2 separate regions of the Homo sapiens genome follow, and region 2 is linked to region 1. The links are contacts of gene promoters, found by promoter capture Hi-C in human tissues and cell types (Jung and others, 2019). All regions are on one chromosome and are shown on one strand. The core of a region is centred on a gene start or on the middle of the fragment in contact, and the rest is flanking DNA. Distances in the headings are between cores, read along the strand shown. Region 1 holds the start of HILPDA (hypoxia inducible lipid droplet associated). Region 2 overlaps CCDC136 (coiled-coil domain containing 136).

Evidence for each region. Contacts are between HindIII fragments. The study calls those that stand out against the background at their distance.
Region 2: a contact is called between a fragment that was not itself captured here and the fragment with the promoter of HILPDA in region 1, in 1 of the 25 tissues and cell types used here (hippocampus).

What each region holds. Positions count from the first base shown.
Region 1 is chr7:128,453,901-128,458,633 of GRCh38, forward strand. It overlaps HILPDA (hypoxia inducible lipid droplet associated), which reads left to right and starts at 1,978. Exons shown (of 2, transcript NM_013332.4): 1 at 1,978-2,123; 2 at 3,301-4,518. The coding sequence starts at 3,369. The coding sequence ends at 3,560. It also overlaps the pseudogene EFCAB3P1. RefSeq lists enhancers at 6-712, 1,621-1,790 and a silencer at 1,891-2,030. The HindIII fragment of the contact is 5,129 bases long and covers 1-4,121 here.
Region 2 is chr7:128,816,826-128,821,558 of GRCh38, forward strand. It overlaps CCDC136 (coiled-coil domain containing 136), which reads left to right. Exons shown (of 18, transcript NM_022742.5): 17 at 933-1,039. The coding sequence ends at 1,034. Among named protein-coding and RNA genes, the nearest start is that of FLNC, 11 kb to the right of the region's middle. The HindIII fragment of the contact is 4,770 bases long and covers 1-4,671 here.

The sequences.
Region 1 (4,733 bases), core at 728-3,227:
AATGGTAAAGCATAGAGCTGCCCTCACCCAAACCCTTCTTATTTCCAACTGGCATGACCTTTAGACAATGGCAGGGAATATGGGGAGAAAGAATTGTTGGAGAGGTGCCCATCCCTTCTTCCAGCTGTGTGAAGTATAAATTTAGAACTCAAACTAAGTAGAACTCAAATGGTCATTGTAGAATTCCTGCATTCATTCAGCAAGCCTAGGCTGCTAATGAGCAAAACCCCTCACTGGGAGTTTTGTAGTTGATGATACAGATAATGTTAAGATTCATAGAATGTTTTTTATGTGCCAGGCATTGTTCTAAGCGCTTTATATGGATTAATTCATTTAATATCAGGTTAAGACTGTTATGATCTCACAGAACAGCTGAGGAAACAGAACTACAAGAAGGTTAAAGGGTTCGCCCAAGGCCTTCACCTGGCAAAGTAGTGGCGTTTGGATCTGGCAGTGATTTCGCAGCTTGAGACCTATTTAATAACAGTGTGAGAGAAGGGTCACACAGTCAAGCAAAAAAACAGACGAAACTCTGGTATAGCGAAGGACCAAAAGTTCTGCGGGCTGAGCAGGAAAGTTGGCTCCAAATGTCTGCCTGCCTGCCAGCAGACCTCCAGCCCCAACCTTCTGCTTTCCCGGCTTCCCCACCCCCTCATTCCCGACAGACCACAGCCAGCCAGCCAGGAAAGGAGGGGAAAGGTCGCAGTGGGGATGGCTCCTCCCTTCCCGTCTTAGAGCCCTTCTTAAGCAGAGCCCGCCGAGCTCGCTGAGATGTGGAAAGTCACAGGGTTCTTTCCCATCCGGCACGGGCACTTGACCCGGGTACACGGAACCGCCAGTTCTAAAGCCACCAGCGGCCTTCCCTTCCACGGCGTGTACACCCCTTCCCGGGGGTCCTCCCCATTCCCAGTGTCTCTCCGGGACTCTACTTTCTGAGATCCCCCGTTGCGTGCTCTCAAGACAGACCGCACAGTCTTGGCTGGGTGGGTTCGGGGGTGATTAGTAAGGCAGCCTAGCCCCCCAAATCTGGACATAAGGCTGGTCTGTGACCTCCTGGCTCTTTAGTTCAAGCCGAAAGCACCCTTAAAAATCATCTAGCGGCCGGGCGCGGTGGCTCACGCCTGTAGCCCCAGCACTTTGGGAGGCAGAGGTGGGAGGATGGCTTGAGATCAGGAGTTCGAGACCAGCCTGGGCAACATAGCGAGACTGTCTCTATTTAAAAAAAAAAAAGAAGAAGAAGAAGAAAAATCATCTAGTGGCCAATGTCTTCATTACAGATGAGAAAACCGAGGCCCATTTAAATACCAAGTGACTTGCCCATATGCAGTTAGGATCCCACACCAGGGCCAGGAGTATTTCACGTTTTCTGAAGCGACACGACAAACTCTCATAGAAAGCAGAGCTTGCAGAGCTTAATATGTTGCACAAGGGCCTCACCATTCCAGAGATACCGATGGCAACTGAAACTCGGGATTTGGAATCTTGGTACAGCTATGAAGTGAAACAAAACCAGCTCTTCAGTCCTTGAAATGAAGAAAATAACGAGTGGGGTAGGGGTCTGGTGCCCTCTGACAATTTAGTGCACCCGAAATCTCTGGGGAAGAACCCACCCTTCACGGCGGGGCTTCACGGACACGAAGGCCATCGGTGTTTTTCACCTACTGGGGAGAAGGGATATGTGCTCTCTGACTCCTTCAAATGTTTTCTACAGCAGAGATGGCAGTCGAGATTAATACACACGCCTCGTCTCACTCCAGAACACAATGACTCAAAACCGCACGACGTGTACTTTTGGAAACAGCTCCGCGGGAGAGCACCCGGGACAATCCCCAAACCCCGTTGCCCGCGGGGTGGGGCCGCGGACGTGCGCCACGTCGTGTGCGTCCCGGGCGTGCGTGCGGCCTCCAGTGCGCGTGCGCGTACCCTCCTGGGGCGTGCTCGCGGCTATAAGGGGCGGAGGCTGGGCGGCGTTGCTCTGCGCTCTGCGGCTGACGGCGCTTTTGTCTCCGGTGAGTTTTGTGGCGGGAAGCTTCTGCGCTGGTGCTTAGTAACCGACTTTCCTCCGGACTCCTGCACGACCTGCTCCTACAGCCGGCGATCCACTCCCGGCTGTTCCCCCGGAGGTGAGCGGCCCTGTGGGCTTCCCCGGCTCCCCACCCCCATCGCTAGAGTGCTCGCCGCGCTAGCAGCCTCGCGTTCCAGGGCTGGGGGTGCGCCGCCGGGATCCTCTCTGATCGCCCACGCCCCATCTGGGGTCCCCATTCAGCCGTCAGCCCTGTTTTGTCCTAAGGTGGTCCTAACTAGGATCCACGTGGCCCATCCCACGCCCACAGGTGCTGAGTTAGGCATCCCTGCCATGCCCTCCCAGAGCACCTTCACGATCTCCTTGCTGTCCCAACACTTAGCGTGTTGCGTGTTAACTACCCTTTGTCTATAAGGTTTGCAATGTGGCCCTAGTATCTTCCAGGGTACCTAACACATTGCAGATATTCATGGTATGTTTGTTAAATAAATGAACTTGATAGATTTGACCCTCATAGAGTTATTTGGACTTGCAAAAAGTTTGTAGTTAACTCCAATCTGTGATGTGGGAGAGACTTCTAGGCAGGTTCCTTTCTCCAGGGCATGTTCTTATATTTCCCATTACCCACCACCCCCCTGCAAAAGGACTGGGCCTATTTCAGGAAGGTGACTGATGCCTGCACTGTAGCACAGGGGTTGTGTATTGTGCCTTGCAGGAACAAAATTTTCAATAAAGTAAATGTTTGTTTGTTTGTTTTTGAGACGGAGTTTTGCTTTTGTTGCCGAGGCTGGAGTGCAATGGCGCGATCTTGGCTCACTGCAACCTCTGCCTCCCGGGTTCAAGCAATTCTGCCTCAGCCTCCCGAGTAGCTGGGATTACAGGCATGTGCCACTATGCCCGGCTAATTTTTGTATTTGTAGTAGAGACAGGGTTTCACCATGTTGGTCAGGCTGGTCTCGAATTCCTGACCTCAGGTGATCCACCCGCCTCGGCCTCCCAGAGCGCTGGGATTACAGGTATGAGCCACCGCGCCTGGCCTAAGAAAGTAAAAGTTTTAAGAAGTGTTCTTGAATTAGTCCAAGAAGCAACACTGGCTCCGCAGCCATGAAGTTTGCAATGTAAAATATTCTTGGAGAGTTGCTGTGCAACTCCCTGGTCCCTGTGTCCCTCACTGGCTAAGCCTCTCCTTCAGCCCTGTGAGAGGACAGAAGAGTCAGGGCTGGATGCATGCATATCCCCAAAAGGCTATAGATTCATCCTTTCCTCTTTTTTCTCAGGGTCCAGAGGCCTTTCAGAAGGAGAAGGCAGCTCTGTTTCTCTGCAGAGGAGTAGGGTCCTTTCAGCCATGAAGCATGTGTTGAACCTCTACCTGTTAGGTGTGGTACTGACCCTACTCTCCATCTTCGTTAGAGTGATGGAGTCCCTAGAGGGCTTACTAGAGAGCCCATCGCCTGGGACCTCCTGGACCACCAGAAGCCAACTAGCCAACACAGAGCCCACCAAGGGCCTTCCAGACCATCCATCCAGAAGCATGTGATAAGACCTCCTTCCATACTGGCCATATTTTGGAACACTGACCTAGACATGTCCAGATGGGAGTCCCATTCCTAGCAGACAAGCTGAGCACCGTTGTAACCAGAGAACTATTACTAGGCCTTGAAGAACCTGTCTAACTGGATGCTCATTGCCTGGGCAAGGCCTGTTTAGGCCGGTTGCGGTGGCTCATGCCTGTAATCCTAGCACTTTGGGAGGCTGAGGTGGGTGGATCACCTGAGGTCAGGAGTTCGAGACCAGCCTCGCCAACATGGCGAAACCCCATCTCTACTAAAAATACAAAAGTTAGCTGGGTGTGGTGGCAGAGGCCTGTAATCCCAGCTCCTTGGGAGGCTGAGGCGGGAGAATTGCTTGAACCCGGGGACGGAGGTTGCAGTGAGCCGAGATCGCACTGCTGTACCCAGCCTGGGCCACAGTGCAAGACTCCATCTCAAAAAAAAAAGAAAAGAAAAAGCCTGTTTAATGCACAGGTGTGAGTGGATTGCTTATGGCTATGAGATAGGTTGATCTCGCCCTTACCCCGGGGTCTGGTGTATGCTGTGCTTTCCTCAGCAGTATGGCTCTGACATCTCTTAGATGTCCCAACTTCAGCTGTTGGGAGATGGTGATATTTTCAACCCTACTTCCTAAACATCTGTCTGGGGTTCCTTTAGTCTTGAATGTCTTATGCTCAATTATTTGGTGTTGAGCCTCTCTTCCACAAGAGCTCCTCCATGTTTGGATAGCAGTTGAAGAGGTTGTGTGGGTGGGCTGTTGGGAGTGAGGATGGAGTGTTCAGTGCCCATTTCTCATTTTACATTTTAAAGTCGTTCCTCCAACATAGTGTGTATTGGTCTGAAGGGGGTGGTGGGATGCCAAAGCCTGCTCAAGTTATGGACATTGTGGCCACCATGTGGCTTAAATGATTTTTTCTAACTAATAAAGTGGAATATATATTTCTACTGTGTGTCATGTTGACTTCTGCTCTTGAAATTCGTGGTAGGGAGGGTCTTAATTTCTAGACCTGAGGTTTAATTTTAACATCTCAATACTTTGGAGCAGGAAAGTGCTTAAATCACTTTGTTTAAAACATAGTATCAGTAGACTTCTGAATTTGGGGGCAGAGGCAGTTGGGTCTGCCATGTATCAACCAGTTATGTGAGCCTAGGCCACGATT
Region 2 (4,733 bases), core at 1,037-3,536, 360 kb after region 1:
CTCTTGTGGTGGGATTATCCAGTCAACTCTGAGGATATCTGGAATTTCCAGCAATTTGGTCTTCAGCACTGGCTAAGGATCCAGTGTGCAGTGCTCTGCTTACCTTGTGCCAGGGGACCATTACCTAAGATGTGGAAAGTCGGAACCACTGCAGCCCCTCCCACTATCATGTTTCCTTGAGCTCATCATATTCCACCACGTGCTGGTTCAGAGCCTCACAGATGTCTTTACCTTCGGTGCCACATTTCTAAAGCTAGACCTGATTTTTCTACTTCAAATATATTCTATGTTTCTATATATGGAGAGATCCCTTTGCCCCGTGGGTCCTGCGTCTTTTGCAGGCAGCTCTAGGGCATGTGTATTACCACCTTGCAAAATCGGTTTCTCTCTGGAAGATTGTTGCAGTGAAAGAACTAGCCCTTCTCCATTGTCAGTTTGTTTCGGTGCATGTTGTCTTACAATGATATCATTAGATTCCTAGGGGATCTAAGGGACCAGAGCCCAAAATACTAAGAAACTTAATGGAAAGCAGGCTAGAACAAAGGGACAGGTGACCTGGTAGAAGACTGGCTCTTCCTAGAGTGACCTAGGAAAAGTCACAAGAAAGGTCTAGATGCAGATACCTCCTGCTTGACAGGATATGAGAGGTATGTGACGAGACAGAAAGAAAACTGGACTCACCGCCTGACTTGGACCTAGCTGCTGCTTAACCCATTCAATTTTGCAATTCCTGCAGACTGCCGGTGGAAAGAACCAAGGCCCAGGCAGCAGAAAAGACATGCAACTGCTCTAGCTTACCTGTTTTTTAACCTCTTGATTCCTTTCTCTTTTCCCTTTGTTTTCTCATCTTCATTATCTGTTGGATCCATGCGTTTATGTCTCACATCTCCTGGTCTCTCCTCGTGCTTCTTTCTCATTTTGGTGTGTTGCAGTCATCCCCTACCCCCAATCCCCCCATCTTCTCCTTGCCTCTTGTAGGCCTGGTGGTCATCTCGGCTTTGCTCTGGTGCTGGTGGGCTGAGACGTCGTCCTAATGCAGGTACTGGTATTGCTTCCTCTCCTTCTGAGGGATAGAGGGAGGGTGCAGGTTGCCCTGGCCTCTCCTCTTTCCCTTTTCTCCCAGCTGCTTGCTTCTTGCTTGTGCCATTTTATAATAGGTGATGCTCAGGTCTGAGTTTTAGTTCTGACTTTTCCTTGGGCTACTGCAAAGCCTCTGACATCTCTGAGCATGTCTTCGTAATGCATAGGAGGTTGGAATGCTTGCCAGAGACATGGTTTGTTTCAATCCTTGGCTGGGAAAAACTTGGATAAGCCCAGCTTGGTTGCTGCTGTCAAAGCTGCCTCACTACTTCTTTATCCCCGCTCATCCTCTGTGTGATGGCTAGCCTGACCACTTCTGATGAGCTGATATTTGCAAGGCTGGCCTGGACTCTCTTTGTCTTGGTTTAACTCCGGAGCCAAGTTCTCACTACTGTTGCTACCCAAGATGGCAAAATAAGGAATCCCTCTTCTGTTGGGAGAGAGAGGAGCTCTGAAGAGCTCTGATCCTCATGATCCTCCCAGGGGCATTGGTAGGAGGGCAACCTAAGCTGGTCCATCAAGCTTGGTGAAATGGAACCGAACCCCTACTGTATTCTGCTCTTTCTACTGAACAGTTCTCTGCTTCTGGACTTCCAGTCTCCGGAAAAGTCAGAACAGAATGCCGGGAAATTTTATTAGTTATCTATTTATCTATTTTGTGGGCCAGATTCCATGGTAATTGGCTTCCCCAGCTAGGTTTTCTGGAGAGAATGAGGTATTAGTGAAAAGTTTCTACTAGCCAGAGATGTGTGTTCTCAGGAAATCAAGACTGATATATTCTGGCCACTTTCCTGTCAGCTCCCACACATGTAATGTACACTGTCAACAGGATACCAAATTCAGGAGGCAGAATGTGGTCTTACGGCCTAAGGTAGAAGCCTGGGGTTCCACCTGCCTTCTGGAACCCATAAGGTATTCTCTCTAGTCCTGCATTGGCTCCTCTCTCATGCTTTCCCTGCCTCCCCCTCCACTCCCCTCTCTTCTCACATTCCTGTGAACGGAATGTAGCTTAATGCACAGGGTGGCAACTGGAGGATTTGTTGGTGGCACTTCTCTCCATTTCCTTTTCTGTCCTTCCTCCTGCTCCCTCCCCAGCTTTCCTGTTACTCATCTTCAAGCCTCCACTTTTCTTCTTGACTTTAGGTATTCCCTTTACTCCCTGGTCCACAACTGCTTTAGTGACGGGGCCCCTCTCTATGACTGTTTCTCCCCTGTCACCCCCCAGAAGTCTTAAGGCACTACGGGTGAAACCCAAAGAGTTCAGCCACAGCCTTCCACTACCTCAGACCCAGCCCGGCCCAATCAGAGGGAGAGGAAGAACTGCTGGTGAAGGGTTCTCCTGGTGGGGCCTGTTATCCCCAGAGCTCCAGGAGGCCCCAACATGCACCTGTGCAGCCAGGACCTGAGGGAGCACAGTGTGGTAGAAAGCGTGGCTGCCAGGCGGTCAGAAGAACTTGGTTGAGTCTGTCTCTACTGACAGGCGTTGTCCCAGGGAGCAAAATGCACACTCTGAGCTCTAGTTTCTTCAAATGTAAGCAAAGGATGATCGAACCTCTGCCCTCCTCACAGGTTTTTGTCAGGACCAGATGGGTTGAAGTAGATGAAAGTATTCTATAAATTATAAAATACCCCATCATTAATAAAAAGAGCACGCACTTACAAAATGCAGTCTTATGTGTCAGGCACTGTTCTAATCACTTACGTATATTAACTGATTTAATCCTTGCAACAACCCCATGAAGAAGCTACTCCTATTTTTTTTTATATATGATTAAACTAAGGCATAGAGAAGTTAAGTAAAACAGCCAGGAAGCTGCGAGTCAGATTATAAGGACTCAATATTAGCAACAAATAAGATTCCAGTCTTGCTTCCCTTTATTGTCTCTCCTCATTTTGAGCAGTTTCTCTTCATTGGTCCCAAGTAGGAAGACACCATACTTGTGTTTAGGCAACCTCAGATCACATTAGCTCTTTAGGTAACTAATATATTATTTATTTATTTCATGTATTTTTTATAAGCCCCTCTGCAGATTGTGTATGCTAAGCGTCCTCTCCCCATTCTGTACCTGCATTTGATTTTGAGGCTTCAAAGGCAGAATTTTCCATTCTTCCCTATTATAGTTCATTGTTCTTACCTTATAAGGTTTTGTGTGTATGTGTTTTTAATCTTGACCCTGTGGTTTTAAAATATTCACTTCCTCTGCCACCTTCACATCATCTACAGGGGTGGCAAGCCCTCCTTCCCTGTCTTCATCTACAGAGGACAGAGTGAGGACAGAGCCTCTAGAGTGTCGTCTCTTGGGGTTCTTTTATTCAGCTCATTGGTCACTTACCTGCCATTCAACAAACTGTACTGTCATCCTACCCTTATTTCTGCATATTATCTGCAAAGATCATAGAAAATTCTGTCAAACAACTCAACGTCCAAAAACATGATTCCGGTGATTTGTCACTTAGGTCACCTAGTTTAAAAGGAGAGTTTGACACGACTTCCCCTTTGGGACACCCACACCAGCCCTTTCCCCATCCCATGTAGAAGCTTGCCTTTGCCCAGTGTGAGGTGCACGGGTCACATTTAAGGATTTCAGCTCCTCCCTCCTTTAAGAACACCAGACTAACATTCTTAGCAATGCACATTAGGATAGAGGCATCTGAGCATATAAATATTTTTTTCTAGCTAGCTCCCTTCTTAGTTTTTGTTTTTGGTTTTAGAGACAGGGTCTCGCTCTGTCACCGAGGCTAGAGTGCAGCGGCATGATCATGGCTCACTGTAACTTTGAACTCCCGGTCTCAAGCGATCCTCCTCCCTCAGCCTCCGGATCTCTTGGTTTTCTTACATGAGTTACTCTGTATATCCACCTGTAACATTGCTTGGCTTTCCATTTCATACCTTCTGTTGTTCTTAGTAGCTATTTCTATAAGCTCAGGAGATTTTCTTTGCTCTTTAGCAGGCTTAAAGTCCTCTTTTTAGATCAATTATCATCTGAGAAAATGTGTTCTTAGCATTAATGGGCTATATTCCATTTTTACTTGAAACCATCCTTCTGTTACCTATGCCATAGCTTATGACTCAAAATCCAAATTCTACCTTTCAGTTAGTAGAGTAAAAAAGTAATAAAAATAAAACCTATTTCCCCAAGTATGTATTTTCTTGTCTAAGATTTTCATATTACCTAATGGATGCTTTTTGGATATCTTCGATGGTGCCACTTGTCCCATGAATCAGCAGGGTTCCCTAGTGGCCGGCAGTGTCTGGAAGCCTCAGCATACTCTAGCACATGCACCAGGAAGTCAGTCAACATACCTGGTGATTAGGAGTGTTCTAATGACCTAGGCCCAGTGACAGGTTTCCTTAAATTTCCTTGAACCAATGTCATTCTCTGTCAAAGTTTGTCTGCCTAAGAACCTCCTACTTACCTGCACTCCGTGGTGCACTTTCTTCATTTCCCCTCAGCCTTATTCCCCCTTCCCCATCCTCTTGACTCTGAGTTCACTTCACTGCAGTGAAACTAATGAGGTGCTGCTGCTTTTCTCAAAGCCCCAGATTTCCCCTCCTCTTTCTTGCCATGGCATCCAGTCCTTTCTCATTGCAACCACTTGGAAGTCTGGCCCCTGAGCCTGCTTCTTCACATGGGAGCTAGTATTCTCAGCCC